Linked DNA regions of Homo sapiens: regions 1 and 3 are each linked to region 2. Evidence: promoter capture Hi-C in human tissues and cell types (Jung and others, 2019). All regions are on one chromosome and are shown on one strand. The core of a region is centred on a gene start or on the middle of the fragment in contact, and the rest is flanking DNA. Distances in the headings are between cores, read along the strand shown.

Region 1 (3,651 bases), core at 146-2,645, 110 kb before region 2:
TCTCAACTCACTGCAACCTCCGTCTCAGGGGTTCAAGTGATTCTTAGCCTCCTGAGTAGCTGGACTACAGGCATGTGCCACCACACCCAGCTAATTTTGGTATTTTTGGTAGAGACAGGGTTGGCCAGGCTGGTCTCGAATTCCTGACCTCAAATGATCTGCCTGCCTCGGCCTCCCAAAATGCTGAGATTACAGGTGTGAGCCACCATGTCCAGCGTGTCTTGGCACTTTAAATGTACCATCTCTGGCTGGGCAGGGTGGCTCACACCTGTAATCCCCTGTGCTTTGGGAGGCCAAGGTGGGAAGATGGCTTGAGGCTAGAAGTCTGAGATCAGCCTGAGCAGCAGGGAGACCCCATCTCTCACAAAAATTTTAAAACTCTAGCCAGGTGTGATGGTACACGCCTGCAATCCTAGCTACTCAGGAAGCTGCAGTGGAAGGATTCCTTGAGCCCAGGAGTTCAAGGTTGCAGTGAGCTTACATTGCATCACTGCATTCTAGCCTGAGTGACAGAGTGAGACCCTGTCTCCAAAAACAAAAAGAAAAGGGTCTGGTATGGTGGCTTACACCTGCGGTTCCAGCACTTTGGGAGGCTGAGGCAGGATGATTGCTTGAGCCCAGCAGTTCAAGACCAGCTTAGGCAATACAGTAAGACCCTGCCTCTACAAAAACGTTAGCTGGGCATGGTGGCACGTGCCTGTAGTCCCAGCTACTCAGGAGGCTGAGGTGGGAGGATCATTTGATCCCAGGTGGTTGAGGCTGCATTAATGCTTACTATAATCTGGGGACTCAGGGTTAAGTACAGTGCCTGAAGGTGTGACGCTGTAAGGGGTAGGGCCAGGATTCACACCCAGGTCTACTGGCTCTCAACCGTGACTGCATATTGGAACACTCTGAGGCGCCTTAAACAATATGACTGGATCCTGGGCAGTCAGACATTCTGACTGAACTATTCTGGGATGTGTGGCCTGAGTGTGGGAATTTTTACCAGCTCCCAGCTGATTGTAACGTGCGGAAGACATTGGGAATCTTGCTCAGTGCATCCTAAAATCTCTTGGGTGTCAGTATATTAACACCCCACAGTTAAAATCTCAAGACAGAAATAAGATCATCCAAAATTAAACTTTTAAGGAAATTTGGCCTGGTGGAGACTAGGTTATCTTACAGATGCCAGAGTTTGTGAATTGGGTCTGCAGAGACGAATGCTGGGGGCCAGTGAGGGCAAATGTTCCTCTCAGCATGGGTGTGAACAATTCTGCCTCCTCTACTGGGACAGGGGAGCTCATTTTTCAGAAATGCCTTTGTCCACCCATCTGGGCTCTACGTCCCATAAAAGCCATTCTCTCTGACACATGGGGAAGAGGGAGGCCAGTCACCTGCTCTGCACACTTCCTTCTTGTCCTAGATCACAATGAAAGCAGTGAAGTGAGCCAGTCAGAGGGAGAGCCCTGGCCTGACATCGAGAGCTTCAGTAAAATGCCTTTTGATGTCAGTGTGCATGACCCCAAGTACAGTTTGATGAGCCTGGTGTATACTGAGAAGCTGGCAGGGGTCAAACAAGGTCAGTGCAATCAGCCAAGTTCACCTCCTCTCTGGGTTAAGGGGACACTAGCTCAGGGTGCCTTACATCTCACTTTTCTTTCGCTCTTATGCGCATCATTTTTTAAATTTTCATAACTGTTTCTTAGGGCATAAATTACAGAATACATGGAAAAGTCATTTTGGGGAAAGAGGGACTTTTCTTTCCAGGCATAGGGAAAACATGTTATCTCATGGGATGGCTTTTTGCCCCTTTATACACAGAAGTGATAAAGGAATCCAAAGTTGAAGAGCCCAGGAAACGGGAAACTGTATCCATAATGCTGACCAAATATGCAGCCTATAACACCTTTCACCACTGTGAACAGTGCCGCCAGTACATGGACTTCACCTCTGCCTCCCAGGTACCATCCCACCTTCGCCCTCGCCCTCTGTCACCCAGTATGGATTTTGTATGTAAGGGTGGGGGGTGGAGGGATGAAAAATAAGGCCCCTAGTTTCAGGCCTCTGGTAAAGGATAGTTTACTCATAAGAAGGAGCCACTCATTGGTGAGAAAAATGCATGAAGGCTGGGCGCGGTGGCTCACCCTGTAATCCCAGCACTGTGGGAGGCCGAGGCGGGTGGATCACCTGAGGTCAGAAGTTCGTGATCATCCTGGCCAACATGGTGAAACCCCGTCTCTACCAAAAATACAAAAAATTAGCCGGGTGTGGTGGCACATGCCTGTAATCCCAGCTACTCAGGAGGCTGAGGCAGGAGAAATGCTTGAACCTGGAAGGTAAAGGTTGCAGTGAGCCGAGACCACGCCACTGCACTCCAGCCTGGGTGACAGAGTGGGACTCCGTCTCAAAAAAAAAAAAAGCACAATGCATGAAGCCATAATTAAATGAATGTTGGGTTTATTTGGATTATGGGAGGGAGAGGAGGCAGCTTAGTTTTAGTGTCTTGAATTACTTCTTCAAATGGTTACACGTGTCATGTTTAGGTTAGGAAGTAGCTGAGGTGTTTATTTGCAATCCATATATTACAGTATATTTGATAAAAGGGTTTCCCCCTCTTCCCTTTGGAGCACTGACTAAAATGGCACTATTATCTCAGATCCACAGGGTGTGCCCTTTGAGCTGTGATTCTAACAAGACTGTTGATTTGCACCAACCTAGTCATATTCTCACACCTGCGTGGGGTGGCTTGGCCAGTGGAGTCAGTTTGTTTTATGCAGTGAGAACTGAGACATAGGAATGAAGAACATGGGCCAATAACCCTTAGTATGTGGCTTCTTTTTGGCTAGTGCATCTTTAAGCACAAAAGATGGAAAGGCAACAAATGATAGTAATATCCAGAGCTTACTTCCCCAAATTCATCTTTATTTTTATAACTTGGCTCTGAACACACAGAAACAACTCCTGCTTCTGGTAGGCCATACTGACTCCCCTAAACCTGTTTCTGCTCTTCAGGGCCAGGTCGTCACCCTTTTCCCACATCTCATCCTGAAATACAAATGAGTACTAGAAAGGATATACTTTAAAAAACTGATCGAATCATTCTGCCCTTCTAATACAAGTTACCTTTTATATCCCATTTGTTTTCTTGGTGTCACTGAAAACTTTTGGTGGGCTGCTTTGAAATAAGCTCATAAAAGCTTTATAGAATATAGAAGACCCAAGTCCCCTGGTCTACAGATTATAGGTTTTTAGAAAATCTCTTTATTAGAAATCCTCTATTCATAAAGTTTCTGTGTGACTACAGTACTAAGTAGTATATTCCCACATTTCTGAGGCAGAATAAACTAGAATTAAGGGAAGAAGTGTAATGTTATTTTTCTATGAAATATAGTATTTTGGTTAAAACCATTGGGAAACCTACTTCGATTCTAGTTGCTGATGAAAATTGATGGTATCCTTTTATTAAGCCAAATCTTATCCACATTAAAAGCGTGAAAAGACCTATTATATAATTATTCACTGAGATAGGTTACTGAAAAAACGTGAACTCTGCAGCACTTTAAATGTAGGTTAGATTTATATTTGGCTTCAGTGAGTCAAATGGTCTCTTTTCTGAAACCAGAGTTCTGGGCTAAATGATTGAACCTCTTCAGCATCCACTGTAGCCTG
Region 2 (3,434 bases), core at 430-2,929:
AACAAAACAAAACAAAGCAAGAGTAGTTAGTAGGATAAGGAAAAAGGCCAGGTGAGCTTGGCATCCTGAAACCCGAAAGAGGGAAGGGGAGTGTTTGTGTTAAATTTTGATGAAGCTCACATACTAAAGAGACAATAATGCCGGGCGCGGTGGCTCACGCCTATAATCCCAGCACTTTGGGAGGCCGAGGCGGGCGGATCACGAGGTCAGGAGATCGAAACCATCCTGGCTAACCCCGTCTCTACTAAAAATACAAAAAAATTAGCCGGGCGTGGTGGCTGGCGCCTGTAGTCCCAGCTACTTGGGAGGCCGAGGCAGGAGAATAGCGTGAACCCGGAAGGCGGAGCTTGCAGTGAGCCGAGATCGCGCCACTGCACTACAGCCTGGGCGACAGAGGGAGACTCTGTCTCAAAATACATACATACGTACGTACATACATACATACATAAAAAGACGATAATTAGCGGGCCATGGTGATGCGCGCCTGTAATCTCAGTTACTGGAGAGGCTGAGGCACGAGAATGGCTTGAAACCGGGAGGCAAGGGTTGCAGTGAGCTGAGATCGCGCTACTGCACTCCGGCCTGGGCGACAGAGTGAGACTCCATCTCAAAAAAATAAAAAATATATATATTTTGATGAGATGTTGAGAAAGATGAAGACTGAAAAGTTTGTCTTATAGATTGGAACTTAAAGTGAAAATAATCTGCTACATTGTGGATTTTATTTTTATTATTATTATTTTTTGAGACGGAGTCTCGCTCTGTTGCCAGGCTGGAGTGCAGTGGCACGATCTCAGCTCACTGCAACCTCCACCTCCTGGGTTCAAGCGATTCTCCTGCCTCAGCCTCCCGAATAGCTGGGACTACAGGCGCGCATCACCACGCCCCGCTAATTTTTGTATTTTTAGTAGAGGCGGGGTTTCACCATGTTGGCCAGAATGGTCTCGATCTCTTGACCTCGCTATCTGCCCGCCTCGGCCTCCCAAAGTGCTGGAATTACAGGCTTGAGCCACAGCGCCTGGCCCATTGTGTGATTTGCTTCAGGTACAGTAAGCAATGCTAGGTTCCTGGTGTTGGAACAGAATCAGCATAAGACTTTGGGCTTCTCTAAGACCTTCTTTCCGTTCAGTGAGGAATTTGTATTAGGTGCTGCACTCACAGTGCCCTGCTGTTCAGAAACGTGATGGTGACAGTACTTTTTTTTTTTTTTTTTTTTTTTGGGAGACGGAGTTTCGTTCTTGTTGCCCAGGCAGGAGTGTAGTGGTGCGATCTCCGCTCACTGCAGCCTCCGCCTCCCGGGTTCAAGCGATTCCCCTGCCTCAGCCTTCCGAGTAGCTGGGATTACATGCGCCCGCCACCACGCCCAGCTAATTTTTTGTCTTTTTAGTAGAGACGGGGGTTTCACCCTGTTGGCCAGGCTGGTCTTGAACTCCTGACCTCAGGTGATACCCCCGCTTCGGCCTCCCAAAATGCGACAGTCCTATTAATTGGATTTAATCTCTTCGAATCTCCCTCTCTTGTAGGACATTTTTCTCCAAGACCAGCCCTCGATACCCTCAGCCGTCGCAAGGCAACCTCCAGCCGCCAGGGGCCGCAGTCGCGCTCCTCGCGGCCGGAAGAGAGTGCGGCCCAGCGCAGCCTCGGCGTTTCCGCCATGCGCCTGCAGTGCTCCGCGCGCTCTTGACGTCCGGAGCCCCTGGAGTAGGCGCTTCCGGCCATTCATACTGCAGTCGGTCAGTGTTCGGTTGAAGGATTCTGTGTGCTGTCGGACCCAGAGGGTGACGGCGCCGCTAGGATGAAGCTCGTGAGGTGAGGGAGTGACCAAGCAGCTCTGGGGGCTGTGAAGGGAGGGCTTGGCCCGGAGTCCGGAAGGCTGGGCTCTCCCATTTGCAGGAGGCGGGAAAGCCGCGTGTGCGCGGCCTGCTAACGGCCGGCCTTACTGCGCCCGCAGCTCGTGCTCGGGCCTGGGCTTCCGCCTGGGTCGCTCGCGGATCCCGCGTGTCTTCCAAGAGATTGGTATAAAGGCCGAGCCTTTTCTTCCTGCCTAGTGACTTAGAGGCTTTAAAGATGCAGCGCCTCCTGGGACACATCTCCCTCTTACAGTTACTCATTTTCTTTTTGAGTGGAACTCCCCAGTCCTGCTTAACAGTACTTAGAAAGCTGTATGAGCTTATCTGGAAACAAACCTGTTTGCAAAATATTTTAAATCAGAGAAGGACTTCCGGCTTCACAAGTTTTTGTTTTTTTAAATAAAGATGGTGTCTCACTTTGTTGACCAGGCTGGTCTCGAACTCCTGGGCTCAAGCTTTCTGCCCGCCTCGCCCTTCCAAAGGGCTGAGATTACAGGTTTGAGCCACCGTGCCCGGCCGATTTTTAAGTTTACCTTTTTATCCTCCTTAGATTTGTGATTGATTATTCCACCTCTATTTCCCTTTAAGGTAGGCTTTTTATTTAGGAAAATCTCCCAATATAGGGCAGAAATTATCACAACGTAATTGTGGCTGATTACTCAGATAATATATAGTTCTCCTGTTTTATTTCTTAAGAAATAAATAGACCCTGTCAGTTAGGTGAGTCTTCTGAAAACTTGTTTGCTGATGTGAATAATTCTAAACTACCTGCAAGTAGATTTGGTTTTGGTGTTTTTCCTTGAGACTAAGCCTGGAACAGAGGCAGACGTTTCTAATAGCTAAGCCAGCAATTATAAATATTTAGCTTGTTTTTTTCCTGTTGAGTCAAGGATTGTCAATATCCGCTAAATAGTTATTGGGCACCTGTTACATACTAGGCGCTGGTAATAGGATTTTTTAAAAGGCAGAGTACCTGCCTTGTTGGAGTTTTCTGGTTAGTGGGGATGACAGACAAGTAGATAACGTCTGAAGTAACGTTTGTTTGAAACGTTTTAAATAACACATAAAAGCCTTCAACACTCAGGGAGGAGGCCAGGCGCAGTGGCTCACGTCTGTAATCCCAGCACTTTGGGAGGCCAAGGCGGGTGGATCACTAGGTCAGGAGTTCGAGACCAGCCTGACCAACATGGTGAAACCCCGTCTCTACGAAAATTACAAAAGTTAGTGGGGCGTGGTGGCGCGCGCCTTTAATCCCAGCTACTCAGGAGGCTGAGGCAGGAGAATCGCTTGAACCCAGGCGGCAGAGGTTGCAGTGAGCCGATATCGTGGCACTACGCTCCAGCCTGGGCGACAGAGCGAGACTCCATCTCAAAAAAAAAAAAAAAAAAAAAAAATTATATTCAGGGAGGAGTTGGTACAAAAGACATTTAAGGTTAATTTTTGGTATATTTTTATTTGAACTATAACTTTGGATAGGAAGTCATAGAATTTAAAGTGCATTTTTTAGGCTGGACGTGGTGGCTCACGCCTGTAATCCCAACACTTTGGGAGGCTGAGGCAGGCGGATCGCCTGAGGTCAGGAGT
Region 3 (3,864 bases), core at 1,029-3,528, 83 kb before region 2:
TCTTGCATATTATGAAGTAGTAAAATACTGCTTTTTATCTGTGTGTCCATGCAGATAAAAGCATCGCCCATAAAATCTTGTAGTTCCTGACTATATTTGTGGCTCTTACCATGTCTCTATGCTAGATATTTTTATAAACAACCAACAACTACATGAGGGCTGCTAACAAAAAATCTATAAGCACCTTTATATAGTCAGCAATTACAGACTCACCCTCTTCTACAGTCTGTGGCCATTAGTGTACACTCACCGTGTCCCTGCTGCCTCCACCACTCCACTGAGACTGCTCTTTTCCTAACATCACTTGGGCTCTCTTCAGTCTTCAACTGTGGTATGACAGGGTTGATCATTCTTTGATTCTTGACATTTTTCCCTTGGTTTCTACCACTCTCTTCTGGCTCTCCTACCTTGCTGCTCATGCCTTCTTAGGCAGTCTTCTTTGAGACTCTTAAATGATGGTGTACCTCACAACTCTCTTCTACCTTCTCATTTTACAAACCCCAGGGTGACCTTGTGAACCTTCAAATAAATAAGTGAACTCATAAATTTGTTTCTCAGTTAGAACCTTTCTGAAACTCTAGATTCACATATCCAATTGTATACTAAAAGGTTTCTCCACTTAAGAGACTCTTTCTACAACCACCTTAAAATCTTGACCAAAACTGAGGACATCCCCATCCAATCCTCCCAACCTAATTCCCCTGTATTCCCATCTGTCAATCTAATTCAATTACCCAAACCAAAATTCCCACTTACCTTAACCTCTTTGCCATGATCTTTTTCTGGTTGTTTATAAATTCCTATCAATTCAACTGTGTCAATTCTTCAATTTTATCTTTTCAATGTGTATCTGTCTCGTCTTCATCTCCACATCACAGCTTTAGTTCAGTGTTTCAACACTTTTCACACAAACGGCTCTTAATTATCATCTAAGTTCCAGATTCCTCAATTATAAACCCTACCTCATAGGACTGTCGTAATGATTACATAAAATAATGCAGGACTAAACACACAGGGTCTGACACATAGCAAACACTCAAATGTTAGGTATTAACTAATAATACTATTCTTAGAGAAATACCTAAATTGTAAAATTTGGGAGGCTATATCTTCAGTATAAACATGAAAATAAACTGGTTTCTCAGTAATAATAACATATAAACCAACCACCCAATATACCCTCTTCCACCTCCAGGTCACCTTGAAACCAAGTCAAAAGTAGTCAAAGTAGTATACTATTGTTTATGGAAATTGGACCTGTATTATGGGATTAACAGTTACTAGAGAGTCTACACTATATCCCAAAATTTCATTCTGTTTTTTTTTTTTTTTTTTAAATCATGGTACCTGTCAGGCAAACAATGAGACCAGGATTGACTAGAACAGTCTCAAGCCCAAAGGGAAATGACAGTATCAAAAGCTAGGGCCAGGTGCAGTGGCTCACACCTATAATCTCAGCACTTTGCGAGGCCGAGGCAGGTGGACCACGTGAGGTCAGGAGTTCAAGACCAGCCTGGCCAATGTGGTGAAACCCTGTTTCTACTAAAAAATACAAAAACAAATTAGCCGGCCGTGGTGGCAGGTGCCTGTAATCCCAGCTACTCTGGAGGCTGAGGCAGGAGAATCGCTTGAGCCTAGGAGGTGGAGGTTGCAGTGAGCTGAGGTCATGCCATTGCACTCCAGCCTGGGTGACAGAGTGAGCCTCTGTCTCAAAAAAAAAAAAAAAAAAAAAAAAAAGCTAGACCAGCTTGATGAATCACGGGGAAATATTTACCGTGCCCTATCATTCTACCCATACAAAATGTAGAGTCTTATACCACTCTAGAAAAAAAAATTTTTTTTTGAGGTGGAGTTTTTTGCTCTTTTTGCTCAGGCTGGAGTACAATGGTGCAATCTCTGCTCACTGCAATCTCCACCTCCCAGGTTCCAGCTATTGTCCTGCCTTAGCCTCCTGAGCAGCTGGGATTACAGGTGCATGCCACCAAAACCAGCTAATTTTTGTATTTTTAGTAGAGACGGGATTTCACCATATTGGTCAGGCTGGTCTCGAACTCCTGACCTCGTGATCCGCCCGCCTCAGCCTTCCAAAGTCCTGGGATTATAGGCGTGAGCCACCGCGCCTGGCCTAGAAATTGTAAAAGCAAAAATTTATAGGGAAATAAAATGTATACCTGTTAATTTAAGGCCCTAAATTTTAGCCAGTTTTCAACTGAGATATGATCATTTCAGCTCACAAAAATAACCTAAGTTGAACCACAGTGGTAATTCATTCTTGGGCTGTGGGCCCTTCATTTATTTGCAACATCATAAAAGTACTATGTTACTAAAATAATCAGAAAGGATTTTGCCTTTGGAAATAAAGTTCAGCTGATTTGCTGCTGACACAATGATCCTTTGGCAAACTGGTGGAAACTGCCTTTAGGAAGCCAATGTTTTAATCATATTTCAAGATATCAAACCAAAAAAACACCCTGAAAAAGCACAAATGACAACACACCATTATTCTCAGTTAGTACATTGGTCACTTAGAAAAAGCTATCAAGTATTTTATTATTTTTATTCTACATTATATACAGGTCATAAAAGGCCACAGCAGTTTTTCAACATATAAACCCTTTAAAAGTAGAGGGCACTATGAAGGATAGACAAGTATCAAAATGAAGTCCAGTAATGAGGGCATATACTCAGTGCAGTATTTCTGAGGAATAACAAAGCAGATACCGAGTCATCCATACTTTGCTTCCAAGTATTCTATACGTTTTTATAAACCTCTTTGAGATTTGTTAACAGCCTAGGTGTGCCAAGTTGCCATTTATTTTAAAAGTGAAACCAGAATGAAAGAATAATGAATCTAGGAGGGTACCTTTCCTAATGCTTGTCATTTACAGCTCTCCAAGAAGGAAAGCCTCAATTCTTTACCACTTTCTACTTCCTCCTTCCATCAAAGATAGGAAAGAGAAAAATCAGGAAAAAAAAGCTCAATATTCTAATTCTTCCTATTTAGCTGGAGCTTTCCTTTTCTATAGGGGTTTCTTCAAAGTATAGTTCAGGCCTTTTAAAAATTAGCTTCAAATTCCAAAACACTTAATATTGCACCCTCCTTGAACAATAACTAAAAAAATTGGTTTCCACTCTGTGAAAATACAATCTTTAAGCCTATCACTGGTATCAGCAGATCAATATAAAAAAATACAGTACCAAGCTACACTGGTATATTTCCATATTAAGAACTTCAAAATATACTTATCACTGAGACCATAGTCCTTGCATTAGTTTTCAGTCCACTATGAACAATTATCTGCTGCATGTAAACATGTCTAAATAACTATAGATAAAATACATCAATCATAAATTTCTGTAAAAGATAATAAAATATCTTCTTTAAAAAACAAAACAATAAGCTATTACTGCATTGTTTCCAATTTTATGAAAATGGAACAACCATATGGTTGTTGCCAGTCCTGAGTTCATTGTAATAAAAATGGCCCTAGTTCCTGGTTAAAGTCAGCAACCAATCCATTCTCTTCAATAGATGTCTTCTAGTGGTGTAGGCAAGAATTTGTTTTACGTGCTATTCTGTCCATTAATAAAATTATATACCAGAAATTGACCAGTGCCACAGTACTGTGTTGCAAACAGCTTTCCATCAGGAGTGGGATCTGAGAAAGCAATTTCTTCTTTGCTCAAATATGAGCCATATATAAAGTTACTCCTATTAAAAAAAAATGGGGGGGGGGAAGGGTTAAGTGTGAAATGTTAAAAAAAAAAAAATTCTAATCATTAAAACTGGAATAACCTGTCAAATACAATTTGACTAAAAAAGCTTTTTAGATACTGCTGTATGTGCTCAAAATTTTTGAAAAT

The links. Contacts are between HindIII fragments. The study calls those that stand out against the background at their distance.
Region 1: a contact is called between a fragment that was not itself captured here and the fragment with the promoter of SNRPD1 in region 2, in 2 of the 25 tissues and cell types used here (lymphoblastoid cells and stomach).
Region 3: a contact is called between a fragment that was not itself captured here and the fragment with the promoter of SNRPD1 in region 2, in 2 of the 25 tissues and cell types used here (dorsolateral prefrontal cortex and thymus).

Annotation. Positions count from the first base shown.
Region 1 is chr18:21,504,007-21,507,657 of GRCh38, forward strand. GREB1L (GREB1 like retinoic acid receptor coactivator) reads left to right here. Exons shown (of 33, transcript NM_001142966.3): 24 at 1,406-1,561; 25 at 1,804-1,943. Among named protein-coding and RNA genes, the nearest start is that of GREB1L-AS1, 55 kb to the left of the region's middle. The HindIII fragment of the contact is 5,116 bases long and covers 1-3,651 here.
Region 2 is chr18:21,610,635-21,614,068 of GRCh38, forward strand. SNRPD1 (small nuclear ribonucleoprotein D1 polypeptide) reads left to right here and starts at 1,680. Exons shown (of 4, transcript NM_006938.4): 1 at 1,680-1,809. The coding sequence starts at 1,796. RefSeq lists a silencer at 1,429-1,478 and an enhancer at 1,739-1,828. The HindIII fragment of the contact is 13,798 bases long and covers 1-3,434 here.
Region 3 is chr18:21,526,779-21,530,642 of GRCh38, forward strand. ESCO1 (establishment of sister chromatid cohesion N-acetyltransferase 1) reads right to left here. Exons shown (of 12, transcript NM_052911.3): 12 at 2,506-3,712. The coding sequence ends at 3,565. Among named protein-coding and RNA genes, the nearest start is that of ESCO1, 72 kb to the right of the region's middle. The HindIII fragment of the contact is 6,958 bases long and covers 1-3,864 here.